3 separate regions of the Homo sapiens genome follow, and regions 1 and 2 are each linked to region 3. Evidence: promoter capture Hi-C in human tissues and cell types (Jung and others, 2019). All regions are on one chromosome and are shown on one strand. The core of a region is centred on a gene start or on the middle of the fragment in contact, and the rest is flanking DNA. Distances in the headings are between cores, read along the strand shown. Region 1 overlaps MED13 (mediator complex subunit 13). Region 2 has its middle 38 kb from the start of MED13. Region 3 holds the start of INTS2 (integrator complex subunit 2).

Evidence for each region. The method cuts DNA at HindIII sites, captures the fragments that hold promoters and counts their contacts. A contact is called where the count stands out against the background at its distance.
Region 1: a fragment that was not itself captured here is called in contact with the fragment with the promoter of INTS2 in region 3 in 5 of the 25 tissues and cell types used here (bladder, dorsolateral prefrontal cortex, liver and 2 more).
Region 2: a fragment that was not itself captured here is called in contact with the fragment with the promoter of INTS2 in region 3 in 1 of the 25 tissues and cell types used here (lymphoblastoid cells).

The regions. Positions count from the first base shown.
Region 1 is chr17:62,056,458-62,059,439 of GRCh38, reverse strand. All of the region lies in intron 2 of MED13 (mediator complex subunit 13), which reads left to right. Among named protein-coding and RNA genes, the nearest start is that of MED13, 7.3 kb to the left of the region's middle. The HindIII fragment of the contact is 7,913 bases long and covers 1-2,982 here.
Region 2 is chr17:62,101,361-62,104,349 of GRCh38, reverse strand. No RefSeq gene overlaps it. Among named protein-coding and RNA genes, the nearest start is that of MED13, 38 kb to the right of the region's middle. RefSeq lists an enhancer at 2,833-2,989. The HindIII fragment of the contact is 7,276 bases long and covers 1-2,989 here.
Region 3 is chr17:61,926,633-61,929,631 of GRCh38, reverse strand. INTS2 (integrator complex subunit 2) reads left to right here and starts at 1,650. Exons shown (of 25, transcript NM_001351695.2): 1 at 1,650-1,978; 2 at 2,970-2,999. The coding sequence starts at 2,988. RefSeq lists a silencer at 1,520-1,619. The HindIII fragment of the contact is 16,998 bases long and covers 1-2,999 here.

The DNA of each region.
Region 1 (2,982 bases), core at 60-2,559, 130 kb before region 3:
CCACATCTTGTTACTGAAGTGTTTTTTATTATGGTGATAATATTGCCCTTGTTTTTCTTGGTAGTGAGGGAAGAGGGAAAGCATTTCTTTTTTCAAAGATTAGAATTCTCAGTTTTTCTTAACTGGAATATTCAGTAACAGAAATACAGAATTGCCTTTGTTTAACCCCCTTAGCTCCTTTGTGTCATGCAGTGTATTTTTAAAAATTAACTAATGAACCAATATTGATACTTTATTATTAACTAAAGTATATATTTGGATTTCCTTTATTTTTTTGCCTAATATGTTTTTCTTTTCTAGGATCTCATTTAAGATACCCCTATTACATTTAATTGTCATGTCTCCTTAGGCTTTGTTAGACTGTGACAGTTTCTCAGACTTTCTTTGGTTTTGATGATTTCGACAGTTCTGAAGAATCTGTTCAGATTCCATAGTGCATTTTAAATTTCATTTTCTCTTATGTCACTTAGCATTTGTTTGGGTTACCTTCCTTTCAAGTTTAGCTGATGTGTAGAAATAGAATGTAAACTTATTTTATTGCTAACTGGCAAAGATCAGTTACAGCAAATCACGTCTGATTTAATACATACTTTAAACCCTCAGTTACTCATTTTGTAGCAGTAAGTCAATACCGTTGAGCAAAGTAATTTGCAAAGGCTGGATGATTTTTGGATCAGGATTTGTGCTAACTAGTATTAGCCAAACTATAACATTCCAGAAGGTTATTTGTTCAAAAAATCTCTTGAATTCCAAAGCCAAACATAGATGATTTTCTTACTTTTTGCTTTATCCTCTATAGGATAATGATTAGTTGAATCGGGGTCGATATGTTTTGATACAAAAAGGATTAGGGAATAAAACTCCTTTGGGGTTACAGCTTTTTTCTTTCTTTCTTTCTTTTTTTTTTTTTTTTTTTTTTGAGATGAAGTCTCGCTCTGTCTCCCAGGCTGGAGTGTAGTGGGGCGATCTTGGCTCACTGCGACCTCCGCCTCCCAGGTTCAAGCGATCCTTCTGCCTCAGCCTCCCGAGTAGTTGGGACTACAGGCATGTGTCATCACGCCTGGCTAATTTTTGTATTTTTGGTAGAGATTTTAATAGGAGTTTCGCCATGTTGGCCAGGCTGGTCTGGAACTCCTGGCCTCAGGTGATCTGCCCGCCTCAGCCTCCCCAAGTGCTGGGATTACAGGCATGAGCCACCATGCCTGGCCCCTTTTTTTTAAAAATTGTATTTTGTAGCTTTGTTTAGTGGTTGTGTGATAGTGGGTGAAAGAGGTATAAAATGGGTGATGGGAAAATCTTAGCTCAGTCCCTCTGGTCAAGAATCTCTGTGGTGGGTAGGACTGGTACTTTTAAGTGTACTGTTAATTTGCTTCAGAGCAAGATTGTATCATTTTCATTAATGTGGTCTTGAAGGAGAGTTTTCTGTGTATTTTTATTCTGTGTTCTAACATTTTTGGAATTCAATTGCTGTCATCATTGGCTTTTATTCTTTCCCTTTAAATAAAAATAAAAGCAAACACTGCGTCCTCTCCCATTTGTCATCTTAAAAAAATCATAGCAAGTTAGACTGTGATGAGACTCTTTGAGAAAACTGATACCTTGTGAACTAAAAAAACTCAGGGCTAAAAATATTTGTTCTTTTTCCTGGCTCCTGAGGTCTGTAAAGTAGATTTTAGTAACATGTTCAGATAGTTTTATTATACCAGAATTTTATCATAATGAATAGTGCTCAAACTAAGTGGACTATTGTTCTGAATTTAATTTTGGATGTTTTAATTGAAGGATATTAACTGTAGTGGACTTTAACCTTAAATGACAGCTGTTAATAGGATTGACAGATAGATAAACAGCCAGGCATAGGAATCTAGTCCCAGCCAAACTAAAACATTGTTGTGTGCCCCACATAGTCTAAAGAGAGTAATTTATTTCTACTATTGTAAAATTTACTTGTGATGTGGCCCGACTCTTTAAATTGGCTAGTCTCCTAGGTGACAACTTCATTTGCTGTATTTCTTCTGCATACTGTTTTTTTGATCAAGTGTATCTTCTAAGTTTTCAAGCCAAACATAACATACTAGGCTGTTTTTAAATCAGTTTTCAAGTTTTGCCATAGATAATGATGCGGCCAACTTAAGGCTCTCGGTATATTTGTTGAATGTATAGGTTATTAATGATTATTCAGGAGAAACACTGATCTAGCATTTAAACATTTCTCTTTATTTCAGGAAATACATGGTATTTTCTACCATGTTAATTTTTGAGCCATTATTCATTAGCATATGTTACATTTTAATAGTTTTGCAAAATTGTATTGGAGAAGATTCATTTTTTACCACCGTGGAGATATTTAAAGATGCCATTTTTTTGAGAAAAATGTTGAGTGCAGGGTGTGTCTGCTTTTTTGGTTGTGATTTTTTTTCCCCATTGATAGAGAATTATTTTGATGACTTATCACATACTTTGGCACTACTGTAATCTGCATCTTCAGGAAAAAAATATGGTAATCAAATTTAGCATTTGTGTTTTCTTCCAATAAATAGTCCATAAAAATTTCAAGAAACACTGATGATTAAGAACTGTAATGCTAATAGTAACAGAAAAGTACTAAGAATGCAGAGTTGAACTTTATTTTCTCTGGACATAGAGCTACAAGAGAAGGAATTTTTTTTTCTTTTTTTTGTAGGGATGGAGGTCACACTTTGTCTCACTCAGCCTGCAGTGCTTAATCATAGCTCACTGCAGCCTCCGACTCCTGGACTCAAGCAATCCTCCCACCTCAGCTTCCCCAGCAGCTGGGCCTACAGGCATTGCCACTATGCCCTACTAACTAAAAAAAGTTTTTTGGAGTCAGGGTCTTCCTGTATTGCCAGGCTAGTCTTGAACTCCTAGCTTCAAGTGATCCTTCTGTCTTAGCTTCCCAAGTAGCTGGGATTACAGGCATGAGTCATTGCACCTGGCTAGAGGAGGAAAATAGTTATATAG
Region 2 (2,989 bases), core at 214-2,713, 170 kb before region 3:
AAAAAAATAGTTTTTAGAGGTCTCACTCTAAACAACAGAGAACTCTAAACAACAGAGGTCTCACTCTAAACAACAGAGGTCTCACTCTGTTGTTCAGGCTGGACTGCGGTGGTGTGATCATAGCTCACTGTAACTTCAAACTCTTGGGCTCAACCCATCCTCTCACCTCAGCCTCCCAAGTAGATAGGACTACAGGCACATACCACCATGCCCGGCTAATTTATTTTTATTTTAATTTTTTTAGACGGAGTCTTGCTCTGTCACCCAGGCTGGAGGGCAGTAGCATGATTTCAGCACACTGCAACCTCCATCTCCCGGGTTCAAGCAATTCTCCTGCCTCAGCCTCCCAAGCAGCCGGGACCACAGTCACGAACCACCACGCCCCGCTAATTTGTTGTATTTTTAGTAGAGACGGGGTTTCACCGTGTTGACCAGGCTGGTCTCGAACTCCTGGCCTCAAGTTATCTGCCTGCCTCGGCCTCCCAAAGTGCTGGGATTACAGGCATTAGCCACTGTGCCTGGCCAAAAGGGTTTTATTGTTTGCTTGTTTTTTGTTTTTTAAATTTGAACTTGACATTGTGAACATATCAGGTAAAGTTGAGCTCATCACATCTGAAAGATATGAACTGTCATTTTTGTATCTGAAGATGATATGCTATAACTATTCCTTCTGCTGATTTAGGCTTTGAGTTGCTTTACAAATTGTACTGGCAGATTTTCCTTGATCAACCTTCTGCCATCAGAGTCTGTATTAGTGAGAGTTCTTCAATCATACAAAACAGAAACAGACTGGATGACTTGAGTAGGAGAGAACTGTTTTGGGAGGATAATAGGTAGCAGATGGGACTCATGGGAAAGCTAGAGAGTCTGCTTGGAGGACAGGAAGCCGGGCAACTCTAGAGGTTAAGGTGGCTGGGGGCACAACGCTGGGACAATAGGTGCCAACCAGCTTTTAGTGTCTAGGTCGTGCCATTCAAGATTCAAATCTTTTTTTTTTTTTTCTGAGACAGCGCCTCACTTTGTCACCCAGGGTGGAGTGCAGTGGTGTGATCTCGGCTCACTGCAACCTTGACCTCCTGGGCTAAAGCGATCCTCTCACCTCAGCCCCGCAGGTAGCTGGGACTACAGGTGCACGCCACCAGGCCCAGCTAATTTTTTTGTATTTTTTTTGTAGAGCCAGGGTTTCGCCATGTTGCTCAGGCTGGTCTCAAACTCCTGTGCTCAAGTGATCCATCAGCCTTAGCCTCCCAAAGTGCTAGGATTACAGGTGTGAGCCACCGTGCCCAGCCCTAAGATTCAAATCTAAGGAAACAGTCTGTTCACCTCGCTCCCTGGCTAGGAAAGAACAAGGCAGTTTGATTTCTAGTCCCATCAAGACTGTACACCATAGAGGAAAGGTATTGTCCCAATCAGAGTGCTTTACCAAAATAAGCCCTGTGTGGCACTAGGGCTCGAAGCCCCAACTGCCCAAAGTGGATCTAGTCCTGAGCGTCCCAGGGACTCATGCTGTCCTTCAACGGCCTCTGTGACTATCCCAGGCTCTAATCTTGAATCCTCGCTACTCCTCCAGGCCAACAGGACCACCACATGTCATTGTCCTCTACCACTGAGGCTGGGGCTCTGGATATAGTGAGAAAGTTTCCTACAATTACAATCTTCATAGCCAACAGAAAATATCTTTTGTCTATGAAGAAATCATAGTTTTTAGGCCCCCAGAATGTCATGTGGATCTTTCAGATTTCAGTTCTCCACCTGAACTCTCTAAGTGAGAGTATTTGAGTGTCTGTATCATACTCAGAGATACTTGTCCTTGCCAAAGACACCAGTGTTCTAAACTTAGGGACTCTTTTTTTTTTTTTTTTGAGCCAGAGTCTCGCTCCGTCACCCAGGCTAGAGTGCAGTGGTATGATCTGGGCTCACTGCAACCTCTGCCTCTTGGGTTCAAACTATTCTCATGCCTCAGCCTCTCAAGTAGCTGGGGTTACAAGCGGTCGCCACCATGCCCAGCTAATTTTTGTATTTTTAGTAGAGATGGGGTTTCACCATGTTGGCCAGGCTGGTCTCAAACTCCTGGCGTTGTGACTCCTGACCTCAAGTGATCCGCCCACCTCGGCCTACCAAAGCACTGGGATTATAAGCGTGAGCCACCATGCCTGGCCTCCTTAGGGACATTTTTCATCTCCTTTCAGTCAACATCAGGTGACTTCTCCGCTTGATTATACAAGCCCCTCTTCAAAAGCTGTCCCTTTCCAGTGTCTCAGGGATTTTACTAGTCCCAAAATTTTCCAGACCATTTTCCTCATGAAACGAAGACTCCCGCTCATCTTTGGCATTCCAGAAACATCCAAATTGAGTCCCTAATGTGACAGAGTTTATGTATCAGCTTGGGATAGGGTGCACAAAGCATGTTTTGCATAAGAGGCTCTTTGTTGTGTTTAAAAGGCTAAACTTAGATCACAGGCCAGGGTACATGGTAGGGGTTGGGGTCAGCTCAGTGAAGATGAATTGCTTGAAACTTCAGCTTGAATTCTGTAGCAACAGAAAGCAACTAACTTGCCTTCCTGCTGCTTATGGTGCCAGCGCTTATGGTGCCATTCTGATAAGAATCAGCACAGTGGGAGTAAGGTCAAGAGTCCAGAGGACTCACAGGGCTGAGGAATATGTGTTACCGGCATTAAAACTCGAAATGCACTTTCCCACAGAAACACTTTTATAAATAGTGGTCAGGATCTTTAGTATTATGAGTACAATATTTCAGGTACATTACGGTTCTGTGAGCTTTTGTGGGCTGGCCTTGGGGCAGAGCCACCATTTGTAATATTGTTTCTATAGGAAAACTTGTTCCCAGTTCCAGACAACAGACCAATAAATAAACTAATAAGCTGGGGATTGCCTATTTTGAAGATTTTTGCCAGTGAATACAATAGATTCACAGGCTTTTACAGTCAGTCAAACTCAGCTTATAGACTTGTGGTCCAAGATGTTGGCC
Region 3 (2,999 bases), core at 401-2,900:
TAGTGTGTGTGTTATTATACGAAATATTTGTTTCCATGTAAATGTGGGTTTATATGTTATATATTTATATGTTTATATAGCATATAAATTTATACACTTACACTTATTTTTGTATGTGGATATATACATATGTTTTTTCTGGGTCACAATGTGAAATGTATTATTGTGGGTCAGGTGGAAAAAATTTTCAGAAGCATTGCAACACACAATTCTTTTCTTCCTTTGCTGATCTATGTTGAAAGTCATATATATATATATATTTTTGAGATGGAGTCTGGCTCTGTTGCCCAGGCTGGAGTGCGGTGGCATGATCTCTGCTCACTGAAACATCTGCCTCCTAGGTTCAAGTGATTTTCCTGTCTCAGCCTCCGAAGTAGCTGGGACTACAGGTGCTCCATCACCACGCTGGGGTAATTTTTTTTTTTTTTTTTTTTTTTTGAGACGGAGTTTCGCTCTTATTGCCTAGGCTGGAGTGCAATGGCACGATCTCAGCTCACCACAACCTCCGCCTCCCAGGTTCAAGCAATGCTCCCGCCTCAGCCTCCCAAGTAGCTGAGATTACAGGCGCACACCACCACGCCTGGCTAATTTTTGCATTTTTAGTAGAGGCGGAGTTTCACCATGTTGGTCAGGCTGGTCTCGAACTCCTGGCCTCGTGATCTGCCTGCCTCGGCCTCCCAAAGTGCTAGGATTACAGGCATGAGCCATCGTGCTCGGCCTAATTTTTATATTTTTTGTAGAGTTGGGGTTTAGTCATGTTGCGTCAGGCTGGTCTCGAACTCCTGACCTCAGGTGATCCGCCCGCCTCGGCTTCCCAAAGCGCTGGGATTACAGGCATGAGACACCACGCCCGGCTCTGACTTTATTTTTAAAGAGGTTATAAAGTGCTATATCTTTGTAAAATATTTTTATTTCCAGCTCCTAGCACAATATCTGGTAAATAGAAGTTGCCAAATAAACGTTGATCGAACTAGGAACAATAAATAGTATGAAGACATATGGACTAGCGGTTCTTCATATATAGACTAGTGGTTCTTTTCTGAGTGATCAGACTTCCTTTGAGAAGTTGTTGAAAGTTTTGGACCCTCTTCCCAGAAGAAGTGCCGAGCACTCAGTTCTGAACGGATTCCAGAGAATTCCTGAATCCCCGTGCATTGCCTCTCTAAGGTTCTATGGGTCCCCCAAGTTAAGAACCTGAAAGGAAGGTGTTTAACTTCTGACAGCGGAGGTGTGAGGTCAAGAGCGGAAGAAAGTTTGGGGTTAGATCACTTTTAAAATTCTCCCACAAATCCTGGGATTCTAGAATTTTGGTTCTGGGAAGGCACAGGCAAAGATTTAAAGAGTACAGTTTGGTACCACTAGTGTCAAAGAATAGTGGGAACGATTTTAACACACGTTATGCCATTTGAATGCCATGGCAATCCTGTGATGATGAAATTTAAGTTCTGAGGGGCTCAGTGGCTTGCTTGTCTAAAAGGAAGGAGCTGGTAGGCTCTGGAAATCAGAGCCTACCAGAATCACATTTCTAAATTTTTGGCGAACAAGTAGGGCAGGGCAAATAAAGTGGAGAAAGGGGCGGGGCCGCGCACGCGCACAGTTGCATTGGCGCCGACGTCTCTGCCTTTCCTCTCGCAGCCACCCTTCCTCTCAGACCAGTACGGTGGCCGACGGGAGTCAGACGCTGGGGATGAATGAAGGTGCTGGGTGCAGGTTGAAAAAGTCTCCCGCTTTTCCGTTCCTACAGTCCCGGTTCTGCCTTTGTGTGGTGCCCCCATCCTTCCCACTTTGTATCGACAACCCGGTTGGTCCCGGCGTCTGAGTTCTTGGTGTCCGAGTCGACTCGAGGCACAACTAGGGTTTGGGGTTCCGGATATCGCCTAGGCCCAACATCGGACCGCGCTCTCGATTTCTGCCGCGTCCCGCCTCTAGGACGCGGAGTCCGTGTGCGGTTCCGTGAGGCTGGAGGGTAGATCTTAAGGTATGAAGCGTCCGCTTCTCTGGCCTCAGCGCGTTCCTAGGTCCGTGTCGGAGCCTGGCCAGACTTTGCTCAGCCTGAGGGACTTATTGGTTCTAGTTGCGCCCGGGGCGAGACGGAGGAGCACGCAGGTCTTGGCTCCTCTGCTCCAGTCAGCCCGCCCCTCTGTTAAAAGAGCAGCCCCTCCCTGAAAGCAAAGCAGTTTTTACCCACGACTTTTACCCACGCTGCTGCTAGTCGGTCGGCCTTGAGAGGGGACTGCTTTGGCTGCCAGCTCACTGCCTTTTTGTTTACTTTTTGTGCCTTGGATGATTCCTGGAGACAGAGAAGTGCGCTAATGAGACGCGTCTTTCTCACATAGCACCCACACATCTGCTTTTTACCCGGTAACACAGGGGACATAGGATAGTGTTGTGGCCTCCAGAGCCTTGAATCTGGCATTGGTTCTGCCCAGTGATTTGCTAGTTTTTCCACCGACTCATGGAGGGTGAGAAAGAGAAGCCCAATAGTTCTTGATGTATATCGGGGTAGGCATGTGAAACTATCGGGGTATGAAAGAAAGCACTTAACTATGACCATTCACTTTTGTTTACATTTTGTGGAGCTCATGTGACTGATATAGTGGAGAAAGTCTTGGACTGGGATTTTAGTAGATGAGGATTCAGCCTTGGATTGTGCCTCTAACTAGTAATACTATTTTGGGCGTGTTACTTCATCTCTCTGGGCTTCATATTCCTTCTTTGTAAAATATGAGTATTAGAGCAGAAGATTCCTGAGGCTGGAAGAGACATTAATATACTCTGTTTTCTTTCCCATTTCCCAGGTGACAGTATAAACCTAGGGAGACAGAGAAGCCTTGTCTTGATTGTGCCAGGAACATTGCCAACATAGGGACCTATTAAAGATACACCACATTTTTCAGGGTTTTTAGAAAGTTGGGTGTTCATACATGTGAAAGTTAAACTCCTACTTTCATTTGTATTTTTACCATTAGGATCAACAAACAGTAATAATGACTGAATGT